3 separate regions of the Homo sapiens genome follow, and all the other regions are linked to region 2. The links are contacts of gene promoters, found by promoter capture Hi-C in human tissues and cell types (Jung and others, 2019). All regions are on one chromosome and are shown on one strand. Each heading gives the region's core, a stretch centred on a gene start or on the middle of the fragment in contact. The rest is flanking DNA. Distances are from core to core; before and after follow the strand shown.

What was found. The method cuts DNA at HindIII sites, captures the fragments that hold promoters and counts their contacts. A contact is called where the count stands out against the background at its distance.
Region 1: a fragment that was not itself captured here is called in contact with the fragment with the promoter of RNF24 in region 2 in 1 of the 25 tissues and cell types used here (mesenchymal stem cells).
Region 3: a fragment that was not itself captured here is called in contact with the fragment with the promoter of RNF24 in region 2 in 2 of the 25 tissues and cell types used here (lymphoblastoid cells and spleen).

Annotation. Positions count from the first base shown.
Region 1 is chr20:3,580,572-3,583,754 of GRCh38, reverse strand. ATRN (attractin) reads right to left here. Exons shown (of 29, transcript NM_139321.3): 16 at 1,401-1,620. Among named protein-coding and RNA genes, the nearest start is that of GFRA4, 81 kb to the left of the region's middle. The HindIII fragment of the contact is 8,776 bases long and covers 1-3,183 here.
Region 2 is chr20:4,014,204-4,017,097 of GRCh38, reverse strand. It overlaps RNF24 (ring finger protein 24), which reads left to right and starts at 1,540. Exons shown (of 6, transcript NM_001134337.3): 1 at 1,540-1,661. RefSeq lists enhancers at 1-414, 618-1,550 and a silencer at 1,434-2,033. The HindIII fragment of the contact is 8,027 bases long and covers 1-2,894 here.
Region 3 is chr20:3,736,799-3,739,672 of GRCh38, reverse strand. HSPA12B (heat shock protein family A (Hsp70) member 12B) reads right to left here. Exons shown (of 13, transcript NM_052970.5): 2 at 956-1,015. The coding sequence starts at 998. Among named protein-coding and RNA genes, the nearest start is that of HSPA12B, 5.6 kb to the right of the region's middle. The HindIII fragment of the contact is 4,231 bases long and covers 1-2,874 here.

The DNA.
Region 1 (3,183 bases), core at 683-3,182, 430 kb after region 2:
CTCACTGCAACCTCCGCCTCCCCGGTTCAAGTGATTCTCCTGCCTCAGCCTCCCAAGTAGCTGGGACTACAGGGGTGCGCCATCACGTCTGGCTAATTTTTTGTATTTTTAGTAGAGATGGGGTTTCACTATGTTAGCCAGGATGGTCTTGATATCTTGACCTTGTGATCCACCCGTCTTGGCCTCCTAAAGTGCTGGGATTACAGGCGTGAGCCACTGTGCCCAGCCAAGACTTTTCAAATGTGGGTGATGACCCATTAATGTGCCATGAAATCAATTAAATGAGAGAAAATAGAAAACAATAAAAGTCATCAAGTACTGTTTAGTCAAGTGTATTTACACACTTGTGGAAAAAATAAATTTTCTTTTCAAAGAGCATTAAGGACAAAGATGAGGAAACAGTGAATCTTTCCATAAAAGTAGGGCTGTAAGCCCCTTAGAATTTGGGGACCCAGGATGAACTTTAGGGGTTTTACAATCCACTTGAATATGTAAAATCTCATGTTTGCAATTTTGGAGGGAAGAAGGTCTACGGCATTCATTAAGTTCAACAAAGGATTCAGAATTCTGAAAGGCTGCTGGGCAGCTCCCCTAGAGAAGTTTAGAAATCAATATTTAGAAATCTACAATGCTATGAATTCTCTCCTATACCTCTGTAATTCCTCAGACAAATTACTTTCCCAAAATTGGACACAATGCAAATGGAGTCCAGCCTCCCAAAATAATCCACAATTCCACCGACTGCTTGTGAGTCCCTCTGCAGGAGGAGGAGGCTTATTTTGAGTTGTCTTCATGCTGCAGCAGCTACCCCTGGGCCTGCCTTTAGTTAGCCAAAATGTAGCCCAGAGAGACTGAAAGCTGGGAAGCTACTCCGAGTGTCTGTCTGCTCAGTACTCTCCTGCAGCTCTCGCGTAGTTCTGGGTTGCTTCTGTCCTCGCTTACAGAACTGCTCTCATCATTTTTCTCCCTGTTGACACTACCTTTCTGAACACTGTCCCTGCAGTCACTTGCTTGCTTTACTAATCTTTTCTTTGTTTTTATTTTCCTTTTTTGTTTCTTCTTCCACAGCATTTCTCTGCCAACACCAATAAATTTGCTTTTCAGAGCAATTCTCAATACTTTTTCTGGTCAATAAACCTATCAATCTCATTGTTAATTAGAATATCAGTTTCTTCGAGTAGTGTTAGTTATTTTTAGTTTTGCTTATAATTAAAACTATTCAGGGTCCCAGAATATTTCCTTCTGCTTCTGAAATCTGGGTTATACTCTTCTTTGCATGCTTGAAATCAATACTTCATCTGTTTTCATGACTACTTCACACATCTCAGCAATGAACTATGCCTCCTATGGTTTCTCTCACAATAAACTCTGAATACCACCTAATTCACCTGTGAACTTACCAGGCCTTTCACAGACACTACCATTGAGTGGGTTGATGCAGGTTGCAGCCTTCAGTCCCCGAGTACTGGGTTCTGATAAAATTCCACAGAATCCAGCATCACTGGGCTCAGACGGCATCCACTGTAGTAAACTATTTGTAAATGGGGACATATCTTCCCAGCACCAGTAGGACACATTGATCTTCCGAAGGCCGACCCATGGGGTTAAGGTGAGCTTGGACTAAAGGCAAAAGAGACACAACTATGAATACAGATAGTATCTTTTTTTAATTTAAATTTTGGAGATGGAGTCTTGCCATGTTGCCCTGGCTAGTTTCAAACTCCTGAGCTCAAGTGATCCTCCCACCTTGGCCTCCCAAAATGTTGAGATTATAGGCATGAGCCACCATGCCTGGCCTGAATATAACCAACATCTTGACCAAAACAAGCTTCTAGATAAAAACCACCAAGTTAAGTATACCCCACAGACATAGGAAAACCTCTTTATCCCTTGACTCAGCCATGGTAGATTAGGATAGATCATCACTTCAATATGGCCATTTTATAAAGGATAAAAATGTAGCTCAGAGAAGATAATATATCAAAAATTCACAGAAATTATAGCAAAGCAATATTTAAGTTCTGAAATGTCTATATGAAGAGATGGCTACCCCCAAACACAGGCTGAGTATCCCTAATCTGAAATCCAAAACACTCCAAAATCTAAAACTTTTTGAGTGCCAACATGATGGATGCTGAAGGAAAATGTTCACTAGAGCATTTTGGATTTCCAGATTAGGGATGCTTAACTGGTTAGTATAATGCAAATATTCTAAAATTCGAAACACTCCTCGTCCAAAGCATTTTAGATAAGGGATATTCAACTTATACCACATTTGCTTTATCCATTCATCCATCCTGGCACTGGATTTTATAGGGAATAATAGGACAGTGACACCTGGGACAGTCTGTCTTCTGCTCTCCTGAAATTTCCTTCTCATTGCAATTTTTAACAAGTTTTAAAAATCAAAATATAAAGTTTAGCCAAGAAATGGTAAGTATTCCTAATTTTGGTAGTTATAAAACAAAAGATATACTGTATTTCCCTCCCTTTGCTTTCTTTTGAGACAGGGTCTCGCTCTGTTGCCCATGCTGGAGTGCAGGGACATGATCATGGCTCACTACAGCCTCAAACCCCTGGGCTCAAGCAACCCTCTTGCCTCAGCCTCCCAAGTAGCCGGAACTACAAGTATGTGCCACCATCATGCCCGGCTAATTCTTTAAAAAAACTTCCTTTGTAGAGACGAGGTCTCCCTGTGTTGCCCAGGCTAGTCTTGAACTCCTGGGCTCAAGCAATCCTCCCTCACTGGCCTCCCAAAATGCTGGGATTACAGGCAGGAGCCACCACACCCAGCCTATTTCCATTTTTGAGAGGAAAAAATACACATGCCTACTAAAAGACCTAAAAATAAACAGATCCAAAAGAAAGAAAGACAATTAAAAATACTTTTTAAAGGCCCTTCAATAATTTCTTTGCCTTCACGATACAATTCAAATCCATTACTATTGTAGCCATGGCCTCGCAGGGTCTGGCCTTGGTTCCTTCCTGAGGCTCAACTATAAAAATCCCCTCCCATCCAGCCTGCAGCCAACCATGCAAACTTACCTGCAGCTCACTCAAAGAGCCACTCCCTTAATCATCTCCCTCTACATCTCACAGATGGGGGCACTAATTAAATCACAGAAAGCCCTTCCGTCTTCGACATCCTAATTCACTCCTTCTCACCTGCAGGGGTCACCTCCT
Region 2 (2,894 bases), core at 291-2,790:
CTGAGCTGTTTATGGTTTATGTGATGGGGCCTGAGAGATTAGGAGAAGGAAGGAGAACTTCTGGGGGACACATGGAGACTGAGGAAGAGGGGGCAATCATTTTTGCAAGCTCTGAGCTGCAGCGCACACACAGTCAGCTGTGGAGCTTCACAGCCATTCCCTCTGCAGGCTCCTAGCCTCTCCAGAAACTTCCGTACCCCAGGAGTGGCAGACACAAGGCGATGGGAACAAGAGAGTATCTGCAGAATACACTGCCTGCTAAAGACAAGAGAGGACTCCCCAGATCCTTGCCTTGGTATTGCAGGAAGAGCTCAGCCTCCCAAAATCGGAGGTCAATTTATTGCCTGCCCTGTAGAATGGGAGCCGGAGGTTGAGGAGTGGATGTAAATAAAGGAATGCACTGTTTCTTGCACACACCTCTCTCCACTATCTGGGCAGAGTCTAGGTCTCATCCATCACCAAGGTTCTAGCACTCAGCTGAGAGGCTGCAGCAGGAGGGGCAGATGGAGGAGGGTGCGGTGCATACCATCTCCCCATCAAACCAATGGGCACCACGTGACCATTCTTGTGTCTCTGGGGACTGTCAATCTGCATGCTAGGAAAGGGGTGGCATTCCAATCTTTCATTTTTTTGTGTGTGAGACGGAGTCTTGCTCTGTCACCCAGGCTGGAGTGCAATGGTGCGATCTTGGCTCACTGCAACCTCCGCTCCCCGGGTTCAAGAGATTTTCCTGCCTTAGCCTCCCGAGTAGCTGGGATTACAGGCATGAGCCACCACACCCAGCTAATTTTGTATTTTTAGTAGAGACAGAGTTTCTCTATGTTGGTCAGGCTGGTCTGGAACTCCTGACCTCAGGTGATCCACCCGCCTTGGCCTCCCAAAGTGTTGGGATTACAGGCGTGAGCCACTGCGCCCGGCCCCATGCTTTCACTTTTAAAAATGCTTGTAGGGCACGCAAAAATACTAAACGGTCGATGGAGAAGGTCTGTCTGGAGTAGTTGTTTTTTTTTTTTTTTTTTGAGACAGAGTCTCGCTCTGTCGCCCAGGCTGGTGTGCAGTGGCACGATCTCGGCTCACTGCAAGCTCCGCCTCCCAGGTTCAGGCGATTCTCCTGCCTCAGCCTCCCAAGTAGCTGGGACTACAGGCGCCCGCCACCACACCCGGCTAATTTAATTTTTTGTATTTTTAGTAGAGACGGGGTTTCATCGCGTTAGCCAAGATGGTCTCGATCTCCTGACCTCGTGATCTGCCCGCCTCAGCCTCCCAAAGTGCTGGGATTACAGGCGTGAGCCACCTCGCCCGGCCTGTCTGGCGTAGTTCTAACCAGGAACAGAGCCAGCGGCCAGGGCCGCACCAGGCCTGGCCAGGGAGCGCCGCGCCTGCGCACTGCAGACTCTGAAGCCGCCGAGCCCTCCGCCGAGGTGGGTGGGGAAACTGCCCGGGCATCCGGGTCCCTCACCCCGCCCCCGCTGCATGAATGAGAGGCGCGGCGCCCGCCCCTCCCCCGGCGGGCCCGCCCCTCGCGAGGGGCCGCCGGGCGCAGTCAGCCGCCGCCACCTCCGCCGCGCTCTGTCCGGACGGACGCTCGCCGCCCGCAGCCTGCCGCCCGCCGCAGGGCGCTGACGGTCCCGCACGTCTGCCGCTGCCACCGGCGCGCCCGAGTAAGTGAGCGAGCGAGGGCGGGAGCGCCGCGGCCGCCGCCCCCGGGCTGGGGTTTGGGGGACCGAGCCGCTCCGGGTTCGGGATGCTGAGGAGACCGCGGGCCCGCGCCAGCCTCCCACACACACACACTCTCCCGGCGCCTCGGCCGGCCGGGCGCGGTGTGCAGGGGTGAGGCGGTGTCTCCAGGCTGAGGAGGGACGCGGAGGAGGGTCCGGCGCGGCCCCGGGACTGGAGGGTGAGTCCCTCACAAAGGGCGGAGCGGGGCTGTCACCTGGAGATCACGGAGGGAAGGTGCGTGGGCCCCCGCACGTCCTGCTCGCCCAAGCCCTGGCATCGGGTCCCCGGGCGTGGGAGGCGGCTGGGATGAGCTGGGAGGCTAGGAGGAGGATGGCGAGGACGCTGCCCCCGCGTTGGCGGTGGGCGCGCGCCTTGGGGGGTGCGGCGTGGCAGTGTTTTCCTGGTCCCCGTCCACTCCTCCCCTTTCTTTGTGGCGCTTGTCTCGTGCCCCGTTGTCACAGTGTGCATGGCAGTGGTCGGGGTGGAGACCTCTTCCCTCGGCTTACTCATTAATGAAAGTCACCATCTGTGGGCAGGGGGCGTGTGTGGTTCCACAGGCCGGAGAATTAAGGACCCTCCTTTGTTTCTGGAGACCTAATGATGTGTGTGTGTGTGTGTGTGTGTGTGTGTGTGTGTGTGCGCATTCAAGTGAAAGGGACATCTATGAAATGAGAGAATCAGAGATTGTCAAAAAGGGTATGAGGAAAAGGGGAGGGGATATAACTTCATCACACCTTTACCCAATTCTTTACCTGATGTTATTTCAAACAGTTTTTTCTCACTGTAAAACCAGTGGGTTTTATTCATTGGAAATGTGCATCTAAATTCTCATATATCTGTGTTTCTAGAATACTTTGCCTTTTTGGGCTTAGTTAATGGTAAGATTCTCATGTCTGTCTACATAGGAATACTCCACCGTACAGGACACTGCTTTCTGGGTTTAGTTCATTGATAATTTGTCCGAATGCTCATAAACATGTCTATAGGAATACTCCAATATATCTAGGACACAGTTTTCTCCGCTCCTGAATACAGGCAGATTTTGTTTCTTTCTGCCTCCCTGTGTTAATGAGAAGGTAGTCCAGCAGGTTCTCTCTACCTCCTTGCTTTTTTTTCCCCTTAATGCTTTGGCAGAGGGTTTTATTGCATATTACCCTGGCATGCGCCCTTGCTTT
Region 3 (2,874 bases), core at 28-2,527, 280 kb after region 2:
AGGGCCAGAGTCTGAGGTGCTGGAGGGGCAGGGAAAAAGTGGCCACATTTCAAGGGCTCCCTCTCCTCAGGCAGCCAGGGCAGGCTCCAGCCCTGCCACCAGCTGCAGCCCGAGAGGCCAAGTTGCTGTGGCTCGAGCTTGGGAAGGGAGGCAGGAAGGAAGGGCCCAGCCCACCAGGTCTTTGTGAATGGACTTCCTGAGGAGTGTCCCTCTTGCCTCCGGCCTCCCACCCCTGCGGAGAACCCAAGCCTGCTCCCAGACCAGGCTATGGCCAGACGCACATGCACACGCAGAACTCTCTGCATGCGTGCCCACCTGCAGACTATACTCCCGTACACAGATCCTGTGCACAGAGACCTGCCCGCAGAGACACACACTCACTGATGCACTCACACGGGGTCCTGTGCACATGGCCTGAACAAAACACATGGACATTCAAACACTCCTGTGCACACAGACCCTCCATGCACACGCAGAACTCTCTGTATGCATGCCCACCTGCAGACTATACTCCCGTACACAGATCCCGTGCACAGAGACCTGCCCGCAGAGACACACACTCACTGACACACTCACACAGGGTCCTGTGGACAGAGCCTGAACAAAACACACGCACATGCATACACTCCTGTGTGCACAGACCCTTCTGGCACACACAAACACACGCACTCAGCCCACACTCATATACACATGAGGGTCCTGTGAATAGACCAGTCCTGTGTGCACACATACTCACATACACAGACCGGTGCACACAGACCCTTTCTGCACACACAGGGGGGTCCAGTAAACACAGACCTGCCCTGCACACATGCACACACACACACACACTCACTCACAGAAGAGCTGTTGGGAAGCTCTGTGGGAGAGGTACATTGCACAACCTGTAGGTGGGTCTCAGTGCCTGCTCGGGTGAGTGGGTGATGGGTCAGGGCAGAATGGTGGGGGTTCTTACCGATGTACAGCCCCTGCAGGCCCATCTCCGGGACAGCCAACATCCTTGCAGGCCCTGTAGCTGTCAACAGGAACAGACAAGCAGAGTGGGATTTATTTGTCCCTTTGTTCCCTCATCTGAATGCTTATTTATTTTATTTGTTTACTTTTGGCTGGAGTCCTTTGAAGCAAATCCCAGCCATCATGTTGTTTCACCCGTGAACTCTTTAATACATCTCTCCAACAGATAAAGACGTTTTAAACAATGTCATCGCAACACCATTCTCATGTCTAATGAAATTAACAGTAATTCCTTAAATCTCATCTAAAGTCCCACAGTTCCCAGCTTGTGTCAAAAAATGGCTTTACTTTCTTGGAATCAGGATCCTCCTAAATGTTTTCTGGTGCCTGCTCTGTGCCAGGTGCTGGGAGATAGTGACCCAGAGAGACACTGTCCCTGCCCTAGAAACCAACGGTCTGATGGAGGAGATAATCAGGCAAGTGATTTTGAAATGACAAGCGTTGCTGAGTGCTAGGAAGGTCAAAGTTGGATAATGCGGGGTGGGAAGAGGACATGGTAAGTCTGGACAGAGGGCTGGGCTGGGCTTACCCTGCAGGCAGGGCCTGTGCACCCTATTTCAGATTTGATTTTATATGAAGGGCAACAGCAAATCTTGAAAGGTTTGAGGTGGCAGGGTGGGGTGGGGGCATGACTCAATTTGTCTTTTCTTTTTTCTGAGACAGGGTCTCACTCTGTTGCCCAGGCTGGAATGCAGTGGCACGATCTTGGCTCACTGCAACCTCTGCCTCCCAGGTTCAAGCCATTCTCCTACCTCAGCCTCCTCAGTAGCTGGGATTACAGGTGAGTGCCTCCATGCCCAGCTAATTTTTGTATTTTTAGTAGAGACGGGGTTTCGCCGTGTTGGCCAGGCTGTTCTCGAACTCCTGACCTCAGGTGATCCGCCCACCTCGGCCTCTCAAAGTGCTGGGATTACAGGCATGAGCCACCGTGCCTGGCCTTCGTTGTTTGTTTGTTTTGAGATAGGGTGTCACTCTGTCACGAGGAGAACCTACATTTAAAGGCTGAACAGAGGAATATATACCGGCCCAGGAGACTGAGATGCCTCATGGTCTCATGAAGATTGTACCAAGAGATGGGTAAAGCTAGATCCCTGTAAAAGGTCCCCAGATGAGACTGGAAACACTGTTTTAGTGGCCCAAGGGAGGTAAGCTTAGGTGAGGAGTGAGCAAGAGGTGACATGAGCTAGAACTTCTTTTCTTAAGATGGAGTTTCACTCTGTTGCCCAGGCTGGAGTGTAGTGACGCAATCATATTGAGCTAGAATTTCTGAAAAGCTTGGCTGAAATCAGGAATACATGTGAGGGCAGTAGTTGGAGGGCGCTAAAGCTGAAGGGAGGTGAGGAAGAATATTTATTTTCTAAGATGGGAGGGGCTCGATCCTGTCTATGAAGTTCTGGGGCCAGGCTATAGGCAGGATATTTCAAACCATCAACAGCTTTGTTACTCAAAGTGTGGGCTGAGGATCAGCAGCATTGGTATCACCTGGAAGCTTGTTAGAAATGCAGAACCTCAGGCCCCAGCCCAGACCTGCTGAATCAGAACATGTATTTCATATTTATTTATTTATTTATTTATTTATTTATTTATTTATTTATTTATTTTTGAGGCAGAGTCTCACTCTGTCCCCCAGGCTGGAGTGCAGTGGCGTGATCTCAGTTCTCAGCTCACTGCAATCTCCATCTCCTGGGTTCAAGTGATTATCCTGCCTCAGCCTCCCAAGTAGCTGGGGCCACAGGCATGCGCCACCTAATTTGCCTAAAATGCCACCTAAAAATGCCTGGCTAATTTTTGTATTTTTAGTAGAGTCGGGGTTTCACCATATTGGCCAGGCTGGTCTCGAACTCCTGGCCTCAGGTGATC